Linked DNA regions of Homo sapiens: region 1 is linked to region 2. Evidence: promoter capture Hi-C in 16 types of primary human blood cells and fetal thymus (Javierre and others, 2016). All regions are on one chromosome and are shown on one strand. The core of a region is centred on a gene start or on the middle of the fragment in contact, and the rest is flanking DNA. Distances in the headings are between cores, read along the strand shown. Region 1 overlaps ZNF772 (zinc finger protein 772). Region 2 holds the start of ZNF468 (zinc finger protein 468).

Evidence for each region. The method cuts DNA at HindIII sites, captures the fragments that hold promoters and counts their contacts. A CHiCAGO score of 5 or more calls a contact.
Region 1: a contact is called between a fragment that was not itself captured here and the fragment with the promoter of ZNF468 in region 2, in 1 of 17 cell types (total CD4 T cells). The highest score is 5.0, in total CD4 T cells.

The regions. Positions count from the first base shown.
Region 1 is chr19:57,470,573-57,476,954 of GRCh38, reverse strand. ZNF772 (zinc finger protein 772) reads left to right here. Exons shown (of 4, transcript NM_001144068.2): 2 at 283-321; 3 at 1,169-1,295; 4 at 2,534-6,382. The coding sequence ends at 3,681. Among named protein-coding and RNA genes, the nearest start is that of ZNF772, 3.8 kb to the left of the region's middle. RefSeq lists enhancers at 1-74, 1-188. The HindIII fragment of the contact is 6,834 bases long and covers 1-6,382 here.
Region 2 is chr19:52,854,095-52,860,293 of GRCh38, reverse strand. It overlaps ZNF468 (zinc finger protein 468), which reads left to right and starts at 2,675. Exons shown (of 4, transcript NM_001008801.2): 1 at 2,675-2,722; 2 at 5,949-6,036. The coding sequence starts at 6,022. It also overlaps a transcript of ZNF320 not described here. RefSeq lists an enhancer at 2,997-3,076. The HindIII fragment of the contact is 10,660 bases long and covers 673-6,199 here.

The DNA of each region.
Region 1 (6,382 bases), core at 1,902-4,401, 4.6 Mb before region 2:
GGGAGCCATGGAAGGTTCTGAACAGAGGAGAGCCAGAATCCGAGGGTTTAAAAAGTATTCCATAGACTGCTCATGGAGGGCAGACTCTTGTTGGCCATGGGGGCGGATAATGAGCACTGTTCCGAGCTAACACAGTTAAGAGGTATCCTTGAAGATGGAAGCACAGAGGGTAGACATTCAGCTCCCAGGCACATTGTAACTGGGTAGGAATATGGGATGGGGTTGAGCCTTTGGGGTTCCTTCAAGATTGCTTGACTCGCATAGTCTCCCTCTTCCCCACAGGTTCCCATGAACTCAGAAGTAATTGTGGACCCTATACAGGTGAGGGGAGAATGTCCATGCTCTCACCGATCCCACCCCCACCCAATACGCTCTCCAGCATTGTGGTGTTATATAGAACACTCTCCTGCTACTCTCCGATCTCTTGGGTCTGAGGACTCTGGAGAAGCCCCAAGCCCAGGGTCCTGACTCCGGGCCAGGGGTTTTATGGAGGGGTTTCCATTTCTGCCAACCATTGGAATAAGGTTGGAAGGTTGTTCCAGGCACAGGAACCAGCCTGTGCAAAATACTTAGAGGTGAGACTGAGAAGGGAGTTTTCAAGAAATTGCAGGTCTCTGTCATGTCTGGTGGGAACCAAGAGCAAGGGGGCGGGAATCATCCTGAAATGGCTTAAAGATGATTATGTAGATTGGGAGTTAAAAGAGAATATTCATTTCACAGTGGTAGTGCATTTAGTGAGCCAGGAAAGTGATGGTGGAGAGCCAGAGTTGTGAGATAACTGTGATCCAAAGAGTGATGTACATATGGAAAGAAGTGTAGACTGATGACGTCTGGGCTTAAAGGAGAAAGGCAAGCCCATCTTTGGTTGTCTGGTAAGCATGATGTTAGTGACCCCAGAGGAATTTGCTTACAGAAGGGTGAGGCCCTGTATGCTAAGCACAGAGCTTAGAGGGTGACAACTTCTTCACCTGCCTGTGGTTGCTATGGGTAGACACAGTGATCCATTGGGACCATGAGGCGAGAGAAGACACCAATGACATCTGGTCCTGATATTTCCTGAGTTGAGGAGTTAGGTAGGAGGGTGTACAGGAGGGAGATGTGTGGGGGCACGGATGGGGGTTCTTGGGAGAGATGCTGCTCATGGACTTGGCTCTCCTGATTGTGGCAGGGGCAGGTGAACTTTGAGGACGTGTTCGTGTACTTCTCCCAGGAGGAGTGGGTGCTCCTTGATGAGGCTCAGAGGCTCCTGTACCGTGATGTGATGCTGGAGAACTTTGCACTTATGGCCTCTCTGGGTAAGGCCGTCACATCCACCCCAGTGACTTGGACTGGGTCCTGCCCTTCCCCTTTTTTTCAGGGCATCTTTGTCCTTCCTACATCAGAGCCGTGGACACTGTCTCATTTCTTAGTGCCTGGAGTAGGTTCTGTGAGTGCTGGGCTTGGGCTGTTTGCACTCCTACTTTCTCCTTTTGAGCATTCCCAGCGCTTGCTGTCTCAGAGCCTTGCAGGCATGGATTCAGGAGTTATGCATTGTATTGTCAGCCCAGTGGGTCATATCCATCTTGTCCTTTCCCTGTCTGAATTCCTCTGTCTGTATCCATGACACCTCTGTGCCTGGGATTCTGCGCTCTTCCTTTAGCTGACATTTCCTGTGGCCTGCCTATGTCAGGAATTGTAGGGACCATTATGGTCGCTACTTGCTAGGACCACTGCACTATTCCTGCAAGACCTTACTCTGAGATTATTTTAATAATATTTAGTTTTCTATATGGGTTACCCAGACCAGTGCTGTTCTATCTTTCCCTTAGGACATACATCTTTCATGTCCCACATAGTTGCCTCACTGGTGATGGGTAGTGAGCCCTGGGTACCTGACTGGGTGGACATGACCCTAGCTGTTGCCACAGAGACTCCAGGTGGGAGTGACCCTGGTGAGTAGGAGCTGGGGAAAGGTGTGATGTCAGGGCTGGGTTCATATCATTCCATAGCCTCTTTGTGCCTACAGTTGTATTAGTGCTAAGGCCACTGGCCTTTCATACTCTGGCCTTTGGCCTCTGGATGTTCCATACCTCTGCCTTCATGTCTCACCTGTTCCTCTCCATGGCTTGTTCTACAGTGCCTTCCAGCATTGGCCTGTACTTAGTGTTTCATGAGATGTGTAGCCCAAATAGTCCTTAAACACCAACTACTGAGTAGCAATTTGATTTTCTTTGGTATGGACCATAACCTTCTGCACAACTCTCACCTGTCCCCAGCAGCCAAGAAAATCTGATTGTGAATGACTTTGAGACCTGCCTCTTTTTTGTGCTGTACCCCACATCTTTGTCCTCTCCCAGTTGAGGCCTTCTCCATTCTATGACATTTAGATGCCAACTACCGTATAGTACACATTTGCTGAACTTGAGTTTGGACCCTTGTCCTAACAACAGTCCTATGACCTTGGTCTTAGTTGTGTTAGACACATATTTGTAGTGAGGCTTCCCCTCTTCCACCTGTGTCAATTTGTACTTCACCAGCATTTCTCTGCTTTCAGGTTGTTGGCATGGAATGGAGGATGAAGAGATACCTTTTGAGCAGAGCTTTTCTATAGGAATGTCACAGATCAGGATTCCCAAGGGAGGTCCTTCTACTCAGAAGGCTTACCCCTGTGGGACATGTGGCCTGGTCTTAAAAGACATTTTGCACTTGGCTGAGCACCAGGAAACACACCCAGGGCAGAAACCATACATGTGTGTGCTGTGTGGGAAACAGTTCTGCTTCAGTGCAAACCTTCACCAGCACCAGAAGCAGCACAGTGGAGAGAAACCCTTTAGAAGTGATAAGAGCAGGCCCTTTCTTCTGAACAACTGTGCTGTGCAATCAATGGAGATGTCTTTTGTGACAGGGGAGGCTTGTAAGGACTTCCTAGCCAGCTCAAGCATTTTCGAGCACCATGCCCCTCACAATGAGTGGAAGCCACACAGCAACACCAAGTGTGAGGAGGCCTCTCACTGTGGAAAAAGGCATTACAAATGCAGTGAATGTGGGAAAACCTTCAGCCGCAAAGACTCACTTGTTCAACACCAGAGAGTCCACACTGGAGAAAGGCCTTATGAGTGCGGTGAATGTGGGAAAACCTTTAGCCGCAAACCCATACTTGCTCAGCACCAGAGAATCCACACTGGAGAAATGCCTTATGAGTGTGGCATATGTGGGAAAGTTTTTAATCATAGCTCTAACCTTATTGTACATCAAAGAGTACACACTGGAGCAAGGCCTTACAAGTGCAGTGAATGTGGGAAAGCCTATAGTCACAAATCTACACTTGTTCAGCATGAGAGTATCCATACTGGAGAAAGGCCATATGAGTGCAGCGAATGTGGAAAATACTTTGGTCACAAATACAGACTCATTAAACATTGGAGTGTTCATACTGGAGCAAGGCCTTATGAGTGCATCGCATGTGGGAAGTTCTTTAGCCAAAGCTCTGACCTTATTGCACATCAAAGAGTTCATAATGGTGAAAAGCCTTATGTGTGCAGTGAATGTGGAAAAGCCTTTAGCCACAAACATGTACTTGTTCAGCATCATAGAATTCACACTGGAGAAAGGCCATATAAGTGCAGTGAATGTGGGAAGGCCTTCAGGCAGAGGGCTTCCCTCATCCGCCACTGGAAAATTCACACTGGAGAAAGGCCTTAGGATGGGAGATAATTCCGTTTCCTTGTTCAACATAATAACTGACATCAGAGAGAAGCTCCAAGCATAGCCTTTATGTGTAGCCGACAGCCAGAAGTAGAACTTTATACACTCAAACACTCACCCTGGGGAGGTTCTTCCGAGTGCCAGCTATATGGGAAGCCTTCTGGAGCTATGCTGAATTTTCTAGACTCTTGCTGGAATTTCGTCAAGGCAGTGCCTGTTAGAAGCCATCTGTCTTTGTGCTGGAAGAGTCCTGCCTTGTGCCAAAGTAACCCCAATGTGTTTCAAAAGACAGACCTCTGTACTATTCCCTTCCCTGGAGGGAATCATCAGTAGCCTGAGGCCATCAAGGATTCTCACTTTTTTTCTGCCCCACTACTGGTTTAAGCATGAGCATGACCCAGTTTTAGCCAGAAAAATGGGAGCTTTGTTCTGCTGACCACTGGCAGAGGTTTCCCTTCATGGATATAGTTGATCTCACATGGCACTTGGGACGAATTTTTCTAGCCTTCAAGACACCTGACCTGAAATTGGCTGCCTCATATTCTGGTTTTGCAACAAATGCCTTAATTTTTAGACTATCTGAAATCTTGAGGATTCTGTTCGCTTTGTGGGTTGGGTTGAGAACAGAATTGAGCTAAGCCAGTATGAAGGGAAGAACAGCTTTTGTGAGAGCTCCAACTATCTGTATCTCTGAAGTGATAGTAGGATGGCAAAGACTAGCTCTTATGCTAGTGTCAAGCTAACTTACTTGACTGCTTCAGCTCTCCTAGGAAAGAATGCCAGTCTTTGTAGGCCTAATCTTTTGGTCTATATGTTAAGATTTTTTGTGTAATTGAGGTCACCCTAAGCAGTGGGCATTTGTTGTGATAATCTCTAATGTGTCTGGGAGCAACATGAATTACGTCCCTTGTTCCCAGAAGATACTTCATATTCCCAAGGCTTCTTGAGGAGAATTTGAACTCAGTGGACATGTCAAGATCTCTGAAGTCTATTTTTCAGTAGGCAGTTGATATTGGCTGTCCTCCAGAAGGCCCAGGTAGGAATCATAGTTGGTGCAGAAACCCAGATTAATAAAGGAATGAGAAAACTGCAGCAAACTATAGGGAATATGACCCTTCTAAAGGTACATCCACATGTGTTTCCATTACTCTGGCTCCATTATGAGGGTTTACAGAAATATTTCCATACCTGTGTCTCTTATGGCTAAGGTTACTGTCCAGAAGTCAGTCTAAACATTTTTGCAATAAACTGCACATATTTATAGTGTACCATTTGATAAGTTTTGATACATGTTGGCACTTCTCAAACCAAAAGTTTCCTGATTCCTTTTATATTTTCTCCCTTTCCTTCACCCATCCCCAGGCAACTATTGATCCGTTGTCACTGTAGATTTGTTTGTATTTCCTAGAATTCTACAGAGATAGAGTAATTTAATATGTATTCTAATGTTTTTGGCTTCTTAAACTCTGAAATTAAGGCTCATGGTGGTGTTCTGTGTTTCATAGTTCATTTCTTTTCATTTGTACTTTGCTAAGAGTGTTCCATTGTAGAGAAATAGTTTCAAAGCAAGTGATCCAGGAGAGAACTCACACAAGAACAAAGCCACAGTATCTGTCATTACCTTAAACTGAAAGTGATGAGCCGTCATTTCTGCTATATTTCATAAGTAACCCTAGCTAATCCTGGTTAAAAGTGGAAGAGAACTACACAAAGGTGAAAATAGGGATTTGTGGGGCGTTTTCTTGGACTCTGGTGACCATAATCCTATATGGTTTTTTTCTTTTTCTGTTTTAGTTGTTTAATATGAATTACATTGACTGATTTTTTTAAATGTTAAGCCAACCTTGCATTTCTGTAATAATTCCCATTTGGTCATGATGTATTAGTCATTTAGTATATTGTTGAATTTGATTTGCTATTTTGTTTTGTTTTGTTTTGTTTTTTTGTAACAAGTTTTGCACCAATGTTCACGAGTGATATTTGTCCCTAACTTTCTTTCTTGCTTGCTTGCTTTTTTTTCTTTGTAATTTTATATCTTGCCCAGGTTTGGCTTTGGTATCAGCATAATGCCAGCTTTATAGAGTAAGTTGGGAAGTATTCCTGCTCTTCAGCTCTCTGGAAGAGTTTGTGAATAATTGGTATTATTTCTTCCTTAAATGTTTGGTAGAATTCACCAAGGAAGCTGTCTGGGCCTGGAGTTTGTTTTGTAGGAAAGTTTCTAACTATAAGTTTGATTTCTGTGGTAGATAGAGGGCTGTACAAGTTATATGTACATCTGTCTGTGTGTGTGTTGTCTGTCTGTCACTCTGGCCCTGAAGTGTGTTTTGTAGGACAGCATCTAACTACAAGTTTGATTTCCATGGTAGATGGAGGGCTATACTAGTTATATATACATCTGTCTGTCCGTCCATCTGTTTGTCACTCCATCCATCCATCTATCTCTAGAGTGAGCTTTGATGGTTTGTGTCTTTCAAGGAGTTTTTCTGTTTTATTTAAGTACTCAAATTTTTCAAAATATTATTTTCATACTTGTAGAATTTGTAGTGGTGCAACCTCTTCTATTCCTGATACTGGTAATGTCTATATTTTTCTTTTAACCTTGATTGGTTTGGGTAGAGATTTATCAATTTTACAATTTTATTGATCTTAAAGTACTTGGTATTATTGAATTTTCTGTTTTCTGATATTTTGGGATTTT
Region 2 (6,199 bases), core at 1,426-3,925:
ATAATAAGTTTTGTTAGACTGTCAGCAGACCGGCAGGTAGACATATCTTAGTTTTTACCTAGGCGCCTATGTAAGAAAAACAGGCCAGGTGCAGTGGCTCACGCCTGTAATCCCAGCACTTTGGGAGGCCGAGGCGGGAGCATCACAAGGTCAGGAGATCGAGACCATCCTGGCTAACACGGTGAAACCCCGTCTCTACTAAAAATTCCAAAAATTAGCCGGGCGTGGTGGCGGGCGCCTGTAGTCCCAGCTACTCTGGAGGCTGAGGCAGGAGAATGGCGTGAACCCGGGAGGCGGAGCTTGCAGTGAGCGGATATTGCGCCACTGCATTCCAGCCTGGGTGACAGAGCGATACACCGTCTCAAAAAAAAAAAAAAAAGAAAGAAAAACTTAAAGAGGAGGCATTTCCTTTGTTTATGAGGACACCCTACTTTGTAACTGGTAGCGTGTAGTGCAATAAAATTTAGTTTCCTAATATCAATTTAAAAAAAAACAGTTTACCTGTAAGTAGGAAGACTACCCAGCCCCAGAGATAAGACCTTTTGGCATCATTGTCCCTTCTTACGGAGTGATAAAGTAACCTTCCTTGAAGTGTATCAATCCATCACCAGTCAAGCTGCCGCAGCCTATGCACTGGTCTTGAATGGAAAATGTGTTGATTCTGCTAAAGCTTCTCTGTCTTTCCCTGTGTGTGAAACCTTAACATCTCTACATGGGAACACGGGCCCCCTTCATTTGGAGTTGATGTTTCCAGATGGCTATCCTCAAACTTTGTGTTCCAATAAACTCTATAATTAATCGTGTATTCTGAATTTTATTATTTACTGCTGACGTCAGTTTCCGTCAGATTGTAGGAGCCTCACTAGAGAGGGCACCTGTCGCCATGTCGTAAAACTCACACTTGTCAAAAAGACGTGGGTTAATGTATTTCCCCTCCTTCTGCATGAAGCTAGTTAGCTGACACAGATGGTCACCTCCATTACCAAGTAGAGCCAGGATGAACTATGTGCGACCAAAGACTTGTCAAGTCCTCTTCCCTGAGGACTGATTAGTGTTTATCTTGAAAACATGTACTTAATGGGTTGTATAGAGCAGTGAAGTTTCTCTCTTTTCAACCTCTCAGCTCTTTGCCTGTATTTCCCAACACATTCTGGTCTAAGGCTTATTTACTAATAAAATGGTTTTTATTTCTTCCTGTTTTGTCATGAAGATGATTTCTCATTTTGGGGAAGATTTTTTAGTTTTCAATTGTATTTTTTCAACATTTAAAAAGCGAAGTAAAGAGTATTTCTTGGGCCAGGCACAGTGGCTCACGCCTGTAATCCCAGAACTTCGGGAGGCCGAGGCAGGCGGATCACTTGAAGTCAGGAGTTCGAGACCAGCCTGTCCAACATGATGAAACCCCGTCTGTACCCAAAATACAAAAATTAGCCGGGCATGGTGGGTGTGCCTGTAATGCCAGCTACTCCGGAGGCTGAGGCAGAAGAATCGCTTCAACCCAGGAGGCAGAGGCTGCAGTGAGCCGAGATGTCACCATTGTACTCCAGCCTGGGCGACAGAGAAATACTCAGTCTCAAAAAAAAAAAAAAAAAGAAGAAGAAGAAGAAAAAGAAAAAATGTAAATAAAAAGGAGAAAGTAACAGATCTCTTTTACAAATGTGCTGGGACAACTAACTGGATATCCATATGGAGAAGAGTAATGTTGTATTCCTATCTCACACAAGCAAATTTAGTTTGTTTATTTATTTTTAGAGAGGGAGTCTGGCTCTGTCGCCCAGGCTGGAGTGCAGTGGCTCGGTCTCGGCCCACTGCAAGCTCCACCTCCCATGTTCACCGCATTCTCCTGCCTCAGCCTCCTGAGTAGCTGGGACTACAGGCGCCCGCCACCACGCCCGGCTAATTTTTGTATTTTTAGTGGAGACGGGGTTTCATCGTGTAAGCCAGGATGGTCGCGATCTCCTGACCTCGTGATCCGCCCGCCTCAGCCTCCCAAAGTGCTGGGATTACAGGCGTGAGTCACCGTGCCCGGCCTAATAAAAATTTTATTTTAAAAATTTAAAAAAGAGAGAGACTGCGGGAGGGAATGTTACATTGTCGCGCAGGCTGTCCTGGACCCCCAGGCTGAGCGATCCTCCCGCCGCTGCTTCCTGAGTAGCTGGGACCTCAGGCTCCCACGCCCGCATCCCTGCTGTGTTTAAGCAGCAGGTGGTGACCTCACTCCTCCCTGGCCTGAGCACTCCGTCTGGCATCCCAGGCTGTGGCCCTAGGGATGTCTCTGAAGCTGAGCACTGGGTGGACTCTCCCTCCTGAGTGAATGGAGAATAGAAAGGGAGAAGATTTCTATACTGTCCTGTGGGCCATCAGCATGAAATCCTACGTTCCGCCCAGAAAGGGCTTTGCATTTTACATTCTAGTTTGCATCCTCCTTCCAGACTATTCCAGGGCTTTTGAATTATCCGTCTGCCTTCCTGGGGGCTCTCGCCGCCAAAACCCGGAGAACGGGTTGGGAGGAGGCTGAGAGATGCACAGGTCCCGCTCCGGCCCCGCCCTCTGCGGGTTCTAAAGGGCAAGGTCTCGCCGCTTCGCGCCCCGCCCACACCTCACCCGGGCCCCGCTCGCCTCCTCGTTGGCTCCACCCAGGCCTGGTTTCTGTCCTGCGCGCGCAGATTCGCGCAGACCAGGAAGTGGATCCCGTGGAATGACGGTCACGCCGCGGCGGGCGGTGAGTTTTGCTCTGTGTGGTGTTAAGTCTGAGCTTCCCAGGTCCCCGGCACTTCTGTACATGGGATGTGGGGTCCCCATAGACCTGGAAGTTCTCGCCTTTCTTCCTTCACTCAGAGCAAATGGAGATGTTCTACTGGGAGTCCGGAAGCCCCTTCTTTTTAGGTTTAAAGTCGCCCTGAGGCTGGTCCCGTCCCGGGTCTTTCTGCCATAGGGCAATGTATACGTTTCCTATCGCGTAGTTTTCCTGCTCAAAACCGTTTTTTGACTCCTTCCGCACGGCTCTTTTTAAAGTCCTCACCCTAGAGGTGTATTCCCACCCTGTGCGCCTCCCAGCCTTACTCTCCTGGGTTCCTGGAGCACAGCGCGGCGACCCCAGTCCCGGGAAGGCTGCGTTCTGTGGTCCTGGGATCCTGCGGATCCCACCCTTGTCCGAAGGCGTCGTCGCTCCCCACCTCCCTCCTCCTCTTGCTGGGCCCTGCTGCTCCCCAGATCTCCCCTCCGCAGTCACCGCGTCCCCTGAGCCCTCGTTGGAGAGGTGCCTGGGGCTTGTCCTGTGACGCGGGGTGTTCTTGCCCGCCCAGCTCCAGCACTTGGAAAATGCGCTTCTCCGAGATGCAGGCGTCTTACTCCAAACCCTCTTGTGATCGTGTGGGCCAAAGGGATCAGGAGACAGAGAGAGGGACTGAGAGAGCAGTAGAAAACCTGAGACAGAGAAAAGAAGAATGAGAAAGACCCATAACAGATGGCAAAGTAGAGGATGGGTGAGGGATTTGCCAAGAGACAGCAAAAGTGATAAAAGATAAGAAAGCAGGAGGAGAAAAGCAACTGGAGAAATGTAGAGAAAAGCTAGATGTACAGAGAGATGAAGGACAGCAAGGTAGGGAGAGGGGCAGAAATGTGGAGGCTCATCAGAGTGAGGGAGAGGAGGAGGGATGTGGAGCCGGGTCAGACAGAGCAGAGTGGTGCTGGTGGCAAGGAGAACAGAGGGAGAAGCACAGCGGGGAGGACACCTGGGGATCTGGGGTGCCAGATTGGGTCCAGGGGGTTATAACAGAGAAGAGAGAATTTAACAGGGAGAGCAGAGGAGGCGCATAGATGGGAGAAGAGGCAGAAATCTATGGAGATTGAGGACGATCTAAAGATTGGGGAGAAGGACCAACAGGAGGTTAAATAAGTTGCAAGGATGGAGCCCAGCTAATTTTTGTATTTCTAGTAGAGATAGGGTTTCACCATGTTGGCCAGGTTGGTCTCAAACTCCTGACCTCAGGTAATCCACCCACCTCCACCTCCCAAAGTGCTGGAATTACAGGTGTGAACCACCTCAGCTGTCCACCCATGTATTTCTTGATTGAAATAATTTGCTTATGTCTTGGTTCTACAGCTGACCCTGTTTCCCTGTTTTCAAGGTCAAGAGCTGTGTGTTTACACTGCTGCATTTTATAAATGTTAGTGTGATTTTCTTGTAAGGAAGAATTCAATGTTGGGAGTCAATTTCATCAGAACCTTTCAAAAGAATTTTCTTTAACCCAGGCATGTGAAAAATGCTTCTCTAATTTTAAGAATGGGATGATAAGACCAACCCATCCCATTAGCCCTTCCAGGCCCCCATGTAAGAATTCAGGCACACCTTCTCACTCATCTCAGACCTTCTCAGGGTAACTTCGTGAAAATGTTTCCAGCTCTGAGCCCCAGTGAACCTCCCTGCATCTTTGCGACGAAGGGCTAGACCAGAAAAGCTCAACCTGAGTGATCCTGACCCCTGAAATGATTGGCAAAATAGAGGCGGTGTCTGGGTGTGGCTTTTTTTCTGGTAGAGGAGAGTGCCCAGTTGTAATTAGAATTTTCAGTGGGATGCAGTACCCCAAAAATGAAAAAAAAAAAAGCAGAAGAATGGAAGAAACAGAGCGGTAGACTCAGAAACAGAGAGGATCTTTGGAGGCCTTTGTCTGTATTAGAATATCACAGCTACATCTAAAGCAGGTCATGTCAGTGCCTGGCAGGGAACCCTCCACCTGCTTCCCGTGTTCCCCAGGACAAAAGCCCGACTCTTCACTTTGGCTCCACAGCCCTGTGTTCAGGGTCCCTGCCAGTGTCCAGCCTCCTCCTGGGAGCTTACCCTCATCTGACTCCCTCTGCCCCAGTCACATTTGCTTTTCTCTTTTTTCAAACATCAAAATCCTTCCTGTCTCAGGTTGTTGTCCCTGCTCTTATTCAATGTTTCTAAATGAAGATGGCACTGTCCCTTTCTCCTTCAGGTCTAGGCTCAGAGCTGTCTCCCATGCCCTCCCACCCCCATCTGAAGTTCCCTCTACCCATCAGTGTCTATGGCATTACTCAAGTCTTCTTATCTCTGTGTCAATCCCATCAGAAATGCACTTTTTTTTTTTTTTTCAAACAGACTCTCACTCTGTCCTCCGGGCTGTGAGTGCAGTCTTGTGATCTTGGCTCACTGCAACCTGTATCTCCTGGGTTCAAGCAATTCTTGTGCCTCAGCCTCCCAAGTAGCTAAGATTACAGGTGTGTGCCACCACACCCTGCTAATTTTGTATTTGTATTTTATTTTATTTTTGAGTCTTACTCTGTCACCCAGGCAGGAGTGCAGTGGCGCGATCTCGGGTCGCGCAGGTTCAAGCAGTTCTCCTACCTCAGCCTCCCGAGTAGCTGGGATTAGAGATACCCACCAATCTCGGCTACTTTTTGTATTTTTAGTAGAGACAGGGTGTCACCATGTTGGCCAGGCTGCTCTTGAACTCCTGACCTCAAGTAATCCACCCACCTTGGCCTTTCAGAGTGCTAGTATTACAGGCATGAGCCAATGTGCCCGGCCCAATTTTTGTATTTTTAGTAGAGACAGGCTTTCACCATGTTGGCCAGGCTAGTCTCAAACTTTTGAGCTCAAATGATGCTTCCACATCAGCTTCCTAAGTAGCTGGGACCACAGACACACAGATGCGTACCACCATACCTGGCTAAGTTTTTGTATTTTTGGTAGAGATTTCCTGAAGGGGAGCTCATCCCAGCCCAGCTCCCCACTGCTGCAGCGTGTGTGTGGGCTTCTCCAGGAGGAGAGTGGGAGTTTTCCTGTAGGAATTTTTTGTTCATTGTGCAGTGGGCAGCAGAGGGGACCGTATTTCCCAGGGTGAGGTCTCCTATGTTTGTGTCATTGTGTTAAGGGAGGGGGTGTGTTGATTCTGAGTGATAAACAACATATTTTTAACATTCAGGATTGACTTCTAAAGACTGTTGGTACGTGAGAAAGAAACCCAGAAGAGGAAGAGGAAAGCAAAGGAGTCAGGGATGGCTCTTCCTCAGGTGAGATGATATCCTCGGTGGATTGTTCTGTCTCCTTCCTTTCAGATACCCTGGGCCTTGGAGTTGGGAATGTCTGGGTCTGAATGACCTGCCTGACATGTTTGCTCACCCTCACTTATGCCTTCCTTCAGTCCCTCTCATCTCGCTTAGGTTCCGTCTCTCG